Linked DNA regions of Homo sapiens: region 2 is linked to region 1. The links are contacts of gene promoters, found by promoter capture Hi-C in human tissues and cell types (Jung and others, 2019). All regions are on one chromosome and are shown on one strand. The core of a region is centred on a gene start or on the middle of the fragment in contact, and the rest is flanking DNA. Distances in the headings are between cores, read along the strand shown. Region 1 holds the start of TMEM234 (transmembrane protein 234). Region 2 overlaps LCK (LCK proto-oncogene, Src family tyrosine kinase).

Region 1 (5,187 bases), core at 2,688-5,187:
GCTCACAAAGCACTGGTAGCCCATCTGCTTGTCCGTGGAGAACATGATGATGTTGCCCCCAAAGTCAAAACCGCAGGTCCGGACAGCCGAATTGGTCTTGAGAAGGGCCAGCTGCTTTCCTGGAGTCAGGCAAAGTCTGGGCTACACCATCCATTGCAATTGCAGGGAGGACATTCTAGAGAATGCTACCATCACATCTCACTGTTTGTCTTGCTCCAGTGACCCAAACTTAAAAAGTATTTTAACTTTTCTTTTTTTTTTTCTTTTTTGAGACAGTTTCACTCTGTTGCCCAGGCTGGAGTGCAGTGGTGCAATCTCGGCTCTCACTGCAAGCTCCGCCTCCCGGGTTCACGCCATTCTCCTGCCTCAGCCTCCCAAGTAGCTGGGACTACAGGCGCCTGCCACCATGCCCCGCTAATTTTTTGTATTTTTAGTAGAGACGGGATTTCACCGTGTTAGCCAGGATGGTCTTGATCTCCTGACCCGTGATCCGCCCGCCTCAGCCTCCCAAAGTGCTGGGATTACAGGTGTGAGCCACCGCGCCCGGCCTTTTTTTTTTTGAGATGGAGTTTCGCTCTTGTCCTGCAGGCTGCTGTGCGATGGTGTGATCTCGGCTCACTGCAACCTTTCAAGCGATTCTTCTGCCTCAGCCTCCTGAGTCGATGGGATTACAGGTGCCCACCACCATGCCTGGCTCATTTTTGTATTTTTAATAGACGGGGTTTCACCATGTTGGCCAGGCTGGTCTTGCACTCCTGACCTCAGGTGATCCACCTGCCTCAACCTCCCAAAGTGCTGGGATTACAGGCGTGAGCCACCACACCTGGCCAAGTATTTTAACTTCTTACCTAGACTCTTTCCTCAGACATCCTGCTAATGTGGCACTACTCATACGTAGACTGCAATATATCTGTCTCTCCCTCAGACTGTGCTTCTCCACAGCAAAGACCTGATCTGATTTCCCTCCATGTCCCCAGTACCCAGCATAGACCTGGCACTAAACAGAACAGCTTAGGCTGGGCACAGTGGCTTGTGCCTGTAATCTCAGCACTTTGGGAGGCCAAGGCGGGTGGATCACTTGAGCTGAGGAGTTCGAGACCAGCCTGGCCAACATGGTGAAACCCTGTCTCTACTAAAAATACAAAAATTAGCTGGTGGCCAGGTGCAGTGGCTCATGCCTGTAATCCCAGCACTTTGGAAGGCCGAGGTGGGTGGATTACCTGAGGTCTGGAGTTTGAGACCAGTCTGGCCAACATGGTGAAACCCTGTCTCTACTAAAAATACAAAAATTAGCCAGGTGTGATGGCGCATGTCTGTAATCCCAGCTATTTGGGAGGCTGAGGCAGGAGAATCACTTGAACCTGGGAGGCGGAGGTTGCAGTAAGCCAAGATTGTGCCACTGCACTCCAGCCTGGGTGACACAGCGAGAGAATCTGTCTCAAAAAAAAAAATCAGCCAAGCATGGTGGCGTGCGCCTATAATCCCAGCTACTGGGGCTGGCTGAGACAGGAGAATCCCTTGAACCCGGGAGACAGAGGTTGCAGTGAGCCGAGATAGTGCCATTGCTCTCCAGCCTGGGTGACAGTGAGACTCTGTCTCCAAAATAAGAAAAAGAAAAAAAAAAAAAAAAAGAAAACTTAATCTATGCTTCCTCTACCATGGCGTGTATTTTCTCATCTATCTTTCTTGTCTCTTATTCCCTAGACTGGAAACTATCTATGGATTTCATCTCTATTTTCCTAGGACCTGTTTACTCAAACAGGTACACTGTAGGTCCTCAATATTTGCTAAAAAGGTGAATGAACCCAGCTTACCTGTTTCACAGTCCCAGAGACGACAGCTGTTGTCAGCTGAGCCAGTGAGGACATGCTTGGTGTCCCCTGAAGAGTTGTTAAGAAATATGACGAAGTTCACCCGAGCCCTTGTCCTCTTGGGATGCCAAGTGAATCATCTCCCTGTTCAGCCCCAAAGAGCCTTTCTACCCCTCTTACCTCCTTATCCAGAACTGGAATTTGTCCTGAATGTTTCCTCAGTCAGTGAAGAGACCAGGGAGTAGGAGGTATCGTTCTCTAGGCCCTCAACAGCACCCCCAACTCCCAACTCCCAACTCAGCCTCTCCATCGCTGACAGACCCTAGCAACACGGACTCAGACCCAAAATAAGGATACAGTCAGCGTCCACACACCACACAGCTCCGGTATGGCCCATGTAGGTGCCCAGCCTCTCACCATTCACAGAGTACCATACATTGACGATCTGGAAAAGTCAAACCACAGGATAGTACACATCCCAGTAAGAGCAATGGCTTCCTATTTTGCCCCAGGAACCCTCAGCAGCCTGTAGCAAGGCTGATTCTGCCCTCTTCTGTTTATTTCTTGGGAAACAGCAGGGAGCTGGTAAAAAGACCAACTCCTGGATTCTCCTCCCTTCCTGAAGGGAAGCAACAGAGGAGTCAGGCGGCTTGTAAAGGCATCCTCATTTGTTAGCTCCAGCTCTCCTGGGACTCCCAACGGCTCCAAAGAATAAAAGGCCAAGTTGAGCTCCAGTCCAGAAAAACAGTATCTCTGATGTCTTATCCAAGTGGGAGCAGCTGGTAGTAAGGAAGTCTGGGTTCTGGTGCCTGCTCTGCCACTGTCTCACTATATGATCTCAAATACAGTGCTTCTCTCCTCTGAACTTCAGTTTTCTCATCTTGAAAATGGCCAGGCCGGGTGTGGTGACTCATGCCTGTAATCCTAGCACTTTGGGAGGCCGAGGCAGGCGGATCACCTGAGGTCAGGAGTTCAAGACAAGCCTGTCCAACATGGTGAAACCCCATCTCTACTAAAGATACAAAAAATTAGCTGGGCATGGTGGCACGAGCCTGTAGTCCCAGCTACTAGGGAGGTTGAGGCAGGAGAATCGCTTGAACCTGGGAGGCAGAGGTTGCAGTGAGTCGAGATCGCGCCACTGCACTCCAGCCTAGGCGACAGAGCGAGACTCCGTCTCAAGAAAAAATAAAATAAAATGGCCAGGTGCCTCAAAAGGCAGTATCATGAGGGATTGTTTGGCATTGAGTAGCAGGATGGGATTGACTTAAAATGAGACTAGAGACACCCTCATTAAGTTCCCTGTGTCTGAATAACACAGCCTGCACCTATCCTGGTAGAAAGATTAGATTATCCCTAAAGGTCGCATCCCGTTCTCTGGGCAAGCTGACCCTCATCTTTATCCCCTTTCCACAGTGGTCTCTTGCTTTTCTTGGAGTGCAGTGGCACGATCTCAGCTCACCGCGCTCAAGCGATCCTCTCGTTTCAGACTCCGAAGTAGCTGAGACCACAGGCGCGAGGCCACCATGTCAGGCTAATTTTTTTGTGTGTAGAGATGGGTCTTACTACGTTGCTCAGGCTGGTCTCCAACTCCTGGGCTCAAGCGACCCTCCCACCTCGGCCTCTCAAAGTGCTGGGATTACAGGCGTGAGCCACCGCACTCGGCCAATAGAGTTCTTCCCCACCTTTCCCGGTAGAATACTTTCGCCAACCTACCCCCGGCATGGCCTCTCCCTACTTCTCACAATGGGCTGCTCTTTGGTTCCCCGCTAACGGCAAAACTGGCGTGTCCACCCATCGTCCTGGCAGAAGGATCCCGCCCCTCCCGGACCCCCTCCAGCCAACACTCACAGGGTCCTTGGCCACAGTAAAGAGGAGGTCTCCTTCGCGGTTATACTTAATCTGCGTAATGGACCGCTCATGGCCCTGCAGTAGGATCGGCTTCTGTGGGGACAAGACAGTAACGTCAGTGCTCGGAATTGGGCCCCAGCCTCAGCCCAGGACCCCCACTGCAATACCCCTAACTCTGAAACTCACCATCCCGGCTGTGACGCGAGGAAGGCCGCAACGTGAGTAAGACCGGAAAAGGTTTCGAGGTCACTTCCGGATTATGGGTCTCCGCCCCTTCGTTCCCGGAAGTAGAAGACAGCGGCGTTGCCATGGCGGCGTCTCTGGGTAGGTAGCCGGCCCCGCCCTTCCATGGATTTCCCGACCCTCGCCTCGAATTCATTTCCTGCTCCACATCCACCCTCTAACCCCGACCCCTGCTACAACCCCAGAGGCCGGACTCCTGGATTCATCTCCCTAGCTTCCCTGGGCCTGCCTTAGCCGCCAGTCGCAGCCGAGGCGAAGAGAGCGAAGGAGGGAAGTGGGGGCGGCTAGCTGGGGCTAGAAGGCCAGGAGAGGGCGGGGTGGGCGGCCGTTTGGGGTGGGGGTCAGGGTGACTCACTCGTCTGCATTCAGGGCAGGTGTTGGCTCTGGTGCTGGTGGCCGCTCTGTGGGGTGGCACGCAGCCGCTGCTGAAGCGGGCCTCCGCCGGCCTGCAGCGGGTTCATGAGCCGACCTGGGCCCAGCAGTTGCTACAGGAGATGAAGACCCTCTTCTTGAATACTGAGGTGCGTCTCTGTGAAAGGCCCCTCTCTCGGTGGAGTTGCCGCCAAGAATTTGGTCTTTGGAGTCAAACAGGTCTGGGTCAGCCCCACCACTTACTCACTAGAAATTCTCGGAAAAGTCAGTTGTCCTTGAGCCTCAGTTTCATCATCTGTAAATGGCGATTATAATAATAACCATCTGATAGGTCAGTTGCAGGAATTAGGTGAGATACGTAGAGCACTTAGCATTAGGCCTAGAACATAGTAAGTGCTCAATCTATGGCTGCCATTATTCACATTTTATTGTGATTCCTTCAGTTACATAAGGCAACATTTGTGAGCCTTTCCAGAGGGAGGGCTTGGGGCTCAAATTGGCCCTGCAGGGGAGGAGTTCAGAGGAGGAAGGCTGGAGCTGGAGGACTTGGGGAAGGCTTCCTGGAGGGGCTGACATTGGCTTCAAGGCCTTGCAGGATGGGAACTAGCAGAGGTGAGGGAGAGGGTAGTTTGAGCAAAGGCACAGACTTCAGTCTGTTTCCCTCTTTGCCCTGGAAGGATCCTCCTTAGAGGGATTAGTGTTCTCTGGGTCCTTATAACCCTGCCTCCCTCCAAGGAAAGACATTCGCTAGGAGCTCAAAGAAGGCAGTGCTGCTCAGTCAGGCCATCACACTGACTGCAGGTTTCTCCTCTTTCCAGTACCTGATGCCCTTTCTCCTCAACCAGTGTGGATCCCTTCTCTATTACCTCACCTTGGCATCGACAGGTGGGTCCTGGCTTGGAACTGTTCTGCT
Region 2 (5,187 bases), core at 1,581-4,080, 53 kb before region 1:
CCAATCAAAGTCGATACACATGATAGGCTGGGCATGGTGGCTCACATCTGTAATCCCAGCACTTTGGGAGGCCAAGGCGGGAGGATCACCTGAGGACAGGAGATCGAGACCAGCCTAGCCAACAAGGCGAAAACCTGTCTCTACTAAAAATACAAAAATTAGCCAGGCATGGTGGCACATGCTTGTAGTCCCAGCTACTTGGGAGACTGAGGCATGAGAATCATTTGAACCCAGGAGGGGGAGGCTGAAGTGAGCCGAGATCATGCCACTGCACTCCAGCCTGGAGGACAGAGTGAGACTCAAAAAAAAAAAAGATACACATGACATAATCTATTTGCCATTTCCCATTAGCCAATGAACAGCTTGTTTCTCTTCCTGAAAAAAGGATAGATCTTACACTCCCAAAGAATCAGAGCCAGATAACAGCAACAAACTTATTGATCAGTTACTATATGGTAGCCATAGTTTTGTGGGTTTTTTGTTTTGAGACAAGGTCTCGCTCTGTTACCCAGGTTGGAGTGCAGTGGTGCAATCACAGCTCAGTGCAGCCTCAACCTCCTGGGCTCAAGTGATCCTCCCACCTCAGCCTCCCAAGTAGCTGGGACTACAGGCATACACCACTATGCCCAGCTAATTTTTAAACATTTTTTTGTAGGAATGAAGTCTCGCTATGTTGCACAGACTGGTCTTGAACTTCTGGGCTCAAGTGATCCACCCACCTTGGCCTCCCAAAGTGCTGGAGTTATAGGCTTGAGCCACAGCACCTGGAAGTAGGCATAGTTCTAACTGCTCTGTATGCATTAATTATTTCATCCTCACAAGACCCTGTGAGGAAGTTACTAACGCGTTATTATAGTAGGAAACCATGGCAGAAAGAGGTGATATAATTATCACAAAGCCATAAAATCATGAAGCCAGGCTTCTGACCCAGGCAGTCAGACTCTAGAGGCCTTGATGAATACTCTGTATTATTTCTGGTGAGCCCATTTAGATTTCTGCTGTTATACTTGGGGAAACTGAGCACCAGAGACAGTGCAGGCACTTGGCCTGTCACACGGCAAATCGGTGTGAACAAAGCTGAAGCTAGAAACTCATATTCCTCTTCCTGGGGCTCTCACTCTGTCCAGTAACAGACCAAGAGGGGTGCAGGGGTGGGGGTCTCACTCAGAACTGAAAAAGAGGGCTTTGGGGGCAGATCTGCCCTCCTAGGGCTCAGGGGCAGAAGGGAGAGAAACAGGGCTAGGGACCCACTTGCTTTCTGAGATCAAGCATCCTGAGATCAAGGTAGGGCTTTGAAGAAGGCAAACAGAATGGCAGGTCAGGGAAGGTTGGGGTGAATGCTCTTCCAGAACATTCTTGCCACCTTAGGCTTGCCCCCAGACAGGATCAGATCAGAGGATACACCTTTTTCTCATGCCTGGAGGTGAGTCTTTTTTTTTTTTTTTTTTTTGATAGAGTCTTGCTCTGTCACCCAGGCTGGAGTTCAGTGGCATGATCTCAGCTCACTGCAACTGTAGCCTCCACCTCCCGGATTAAAGGGATTCTCCTGCCTCAGTCTTCTGAGTAGCTGGGATTACAGGCATGTGCCACCACACCTGGCTACTTTTTGTATTTTTAGTAGAGACAGAGTTTCACCATATTGGTCAGGCTGGTCTCGAACTCCTGACCTCGTGATCTGCCCGCCTCGGCTCCCAAAGTGCTGGGATTACAGGCCTGAGCCACCGCGCCCGGCTGGAGGTGAGTCTCCAGGGGGCAGGAAAGCTCAAGAAACCCTCCTTGCTTGAGCTTTGGGCCAGAAGAAAAGGTGTATTTCCACCCTCTGGCAGGGACAGCAGGGAGAGCAGTATCCCCTGGTAGCCGACTCGGGTAGCACCCACCATTCTCCATGTATTCAGTGATGATGTAGATGGGCTCCTGGGTGACCACAGCGTAGAGCCGAACCAGCCGCTGGTGTTGCAGCTGCTTCATGAGGTTGGCCTCGGCCAGGAAGGCGTCCGGGGACATGCTGCCCTGCTTCAGGCTCTTCACCGCCACCTTCGTGTGCCCGTTGTAGTACCCTGGGTCGGGGAAGGGAAGGAGTGGGAAAGTCGCCAGGCAGCTGTCCTGGGACTCTCATCACCTCAGCGGCCCCTCCCGTTCCCCTCTTCCCAGGCAGTCCTGGAGGCCACACTCACCCATCCACACCTCCCCGAACTGTCCAGCCCCCAGCCGCTCCACCAGCTTCAGCGTCTCCCTGGGAACCTCCCACTCGTCCTCCCACCACGGCTTCTGGGGCTTCTGGGTCTGGCAGGGGCGGCTCAACCGTGTGCACAGCCCATCTGAAGCATCTGCGAGGACGAGGGAGGGGTGAAGGCTGTCAATAGGGCAGGCCTCGTATTGACACCACCTCCCCCACTTCTCCAAGCCCCCATCTAGGTGAAGTGGACTAGCAAGGGGGTGTGGGGCTGTCACCCAAACACTTGGGGCCGTAGGGTCAGGTTCCACACCTCACCCACTGCGGGGAATGGAGTAGGGCATTGAAAGATGGATGGGGGACACCTGAGGGGGACTGAGGGGAGATAGGCTGATAGGGCACGGGGGAGGGGTCCCGTCGGGCTCACTGGTGTAATGGCGGACCAGTTCATGCAGGCCGGGAAAAGTGATTCGAGGGGAGATGTAGAAGCCACCGTTGTCCAGATTACGGATCTTGTAATGTTTCACCACCTCTCCCTGGTTCTGGTCGAAGTCCCGGACCGACAGTGAAAACGATCCTGAATGAATGAATGGATGGACAAAGCGACGAAAGAACGCAGTGAGTCTGGCCCGCCACCGCGCCCCCACCTTGGGCTCACCCAGCACCCCCAACTCCGGGTCATCCCGCGCCCCCACCTCGGGCTCATCCCGCGTCCCCCTCCGACTCACCCCGTGTCTCCACCTCGGGCTCACCCTGCGCCCCCCCTCGGGCACACCCCGGGGCACCCCCGCGCCCGGTCGAGACCGCCGCCCGCTCACCCGCGGTGCTCTCGCTCTCCCGGATGAGGAAGGAGCCGTGAGTGTTCCCGGGCGCCAGGAGCTGCCGCTCCGCGTCCTTGCGGCTCAGGTTCTTGAAGAACCAGCTGTGCAGGGCGGAAGCGAACGAAGGCCGTCGGCTGTCGTCGGATCTTCCTCCGTGGCCCTCAAGCCTTCACCGCCACCCCAGGCCTACTCCCTGCTCCAGGATCCCTAGATCTGCTCCTACCCACCCCCACGACGGGTCCCCACTTACGGTTCGGGCTCCAGGCTGTTCGCTTTGGCCACAAAATTGAAGGGGATGAAGCCTTCCTGGCCCGTGGTCAGGGACTGCGCCTTCCACCACTCGCCGCTCCTGCGCCACGGAGGTGGGTCAGTGTGGCTCGCTCAGCCGTCGACCTGAGACCCTCCCTCAAAGACCCCTCCACCCCTTAAGCCAGCCTCCCCCAACCCTGGCTCAGCAATACTGAGCCTCGAATTTTGTCCCAAGGGCGGCCACCCCGAGCTGGTCAAGGGCCGCAGGAGGGCTGCGGGTCGCGGAGATCGCCGCTCCCTCACGGACTCCGCCAGAGCAAGGTGGAGAGGGACTCACTGCTCCAGGATGCGGAGCTGTTCCCCCTTCTCAAAGCCCAGATCTCCGTCGTGAGAGGGCTCATAGCTGTGCAGAGCGATAACCAGGTTGTCTGTAAAGACAAGGGGCATCAGGGAGAACCGAGCTGGGATCGGCAGGAAGCCTGGAGTTACAGGGTGGGGGACAAGGAAGGCAAGACCGGGGAGAAAGTAGGTGGGGGAGAGGTGGAAGCCAACAGCCAGGGATCCGCAGGCCTTGTCTTTCAGGCCCTGCTGCCTGGGGTCACCTTGCAGTGGGGAAGCCGGCGGATTGGAGCCTTCGTAGGTAACCAGTGGGTCCCGCACCTCAGAGCCATTTCGGATGAGCAGCTGTGGAGTGGGGGATGAGGGTGGGGTCAGAAAGCAGAAGATTGGGTCAGACCCTGGCCCCCTTCCCCCCTGCTCTGCTCTCAGCCTCTCCAGCCTGGTTAGATGTTATCCCTGAGTTTACCAACTACTTTCTGTGTGATCTTAGGAGATTCCCTTCCCCTCTCTGGGCCTCTTTTCCTTTCTGTATTTCAGGGGAGAGGGCCACTCTATTCTTTCAAGGGCCTGTAGTGCTGGTCATTTCTTTCTCCTGGGTTGCATTCTCTACCCAACTCCCTCACCAAGGCCCCTGTCTCGCCTCTTACCGTGCCCTTGCCATCCAGTGGGACTATGGGATAATGGCAGTTCTCACACACATCGATGTTTTCCATCCAGTCATCTTCCGGGTGTGAGCTGCAGCCACAGCCCATGGTCCCTGAGGGAATGGAAGAGGGGGCTGAAGGGGCTCCCCCAAGATCTGCTCCCCCAACATCAGATATAATGGGGCCTTGCCCTGGAAAGTTCCAAAAGTACCTGAGATTGTGAGATCCTGGGATCCCCATTCACCAGCCACAGAAAAGCTAAAATAGGGGGTCCCAGCTCCAAACCGGTGCTCCCTCTGAGCCCTCAGGCTACAAGTAAATTCACACACGGCCCCTGAGCCCTAGCCCCACCCTCCCACCTGGGATGGGCAAACCGCCACAGGCACCTTTGTTAGTCTAGTTACCCACTTCCTGCCTCTGCCCCCTCCCTCTCCCTCTGCCAGTACCCTGTGTTGGGAGGACCACCTCCTAGAGATGACACACACTTTCCCAAGCCTGGGAGAGACCTGACTTATCAGACCCTCCCCTACTGGAGAGGTGTGCACGCCACACCTCCTATTATAATTCCCCTGTCTAGCTGAGGAGGCTGAGAAAGAGGCTTCTGCTCCCGAAGTCCACCATCAAGCCCCCGCTGTTCCCCTCACACAGCCCACAGTCATCTCACAGGGTTCCTTCAAACACGGGCTTGCTTCTCCCCAGCAGAAAACCCTCCAGTGACTCTGTTGGCCATAACTTTTTTTTTGTTTATTTGCCTGTTTTAGCAGTGGAAATTTTTTGTCTGATGAAATCAAGCAGAACTCCATAGATAAAGTGATAAATGTGTGCCTGTTTTGCCTGAAGCAGAGTGGGGCCCTCACTTTGAAGCCCCCGGAGTCCCTGCAGCTCCTCCTTCTCTAGGGCTGCTCCTCAGAGTGCTTGGAAAGCGCTGTCCTCAAAGTTTAATGTACCATGCATTCCAGAC

The links. The method cuts DNA at HindIII sites, captures the fragments that hold promoters and counts their contacts. A contact is called where the count stands out against the background at its distance.
Region 2: a fragment that was not itself captured here is called in contact with the fragment with the promoter of TMEM234 in region 1 in 1 of the 25 tissues and cell types used here (small bowel).

The regions. Positions count from the first base shown.
Region 1 is chr1:32,221,103-32,226,289 of GRCh38, reverse strand. TMEM234 (transmembrane protein 234) reads left to right here and starts at 3,937. Exons shown (of 5, transcript NM_019118.5): 1 at 3,937-3,983; 2 at 4,272-4,423; 3 at 5,093-5,159. The coding sequence starts at 3,968. It overlaps EIF3I (eukaryotic translation initiation factor 3 subunit I), which reads right to left and starts at 3,883. Exons shown (of 11, transcript NM_003757.4): 1 at 3,846-3,883; 2 at 3,660-3,752; 3 at 2,169-2,256; 4 at 1,815-1,880; 5 at 1-119. The coding sequence starts at 3,848. RefSeq lists enhancers at 3,555-4,188, 3,465-4,664. The HindIII fragment of the contact is 14,812 bases long and covers 1-5,187 here.
Region 2 is chr1:32,273,477-32,278,663 of GRCh38, reverse strand. It overlaps LCK (LCK proto-oncogene, Src family tyrosine kinase), which reads right to left. Exons shown (of 13, transcript NM_005356.5): 2 at 4,230-4,339; 3 at 3,846-3,927; 4 at 3,581-3,671; 5 at 3,245-3,343; 6 at 2,992-3,095; 7 at 2,601-2,750; 8 at 2,175-2,327; 9 at 1,878-2,057. The coding sequence starts at 4,334. Among named protein-coding and RNA genes, the nearest start is that of HDAC1, 16 kb to the left of the region's middle. The HindIII fragment of the contact is 9,449 bases long and covers 1-5,187 here.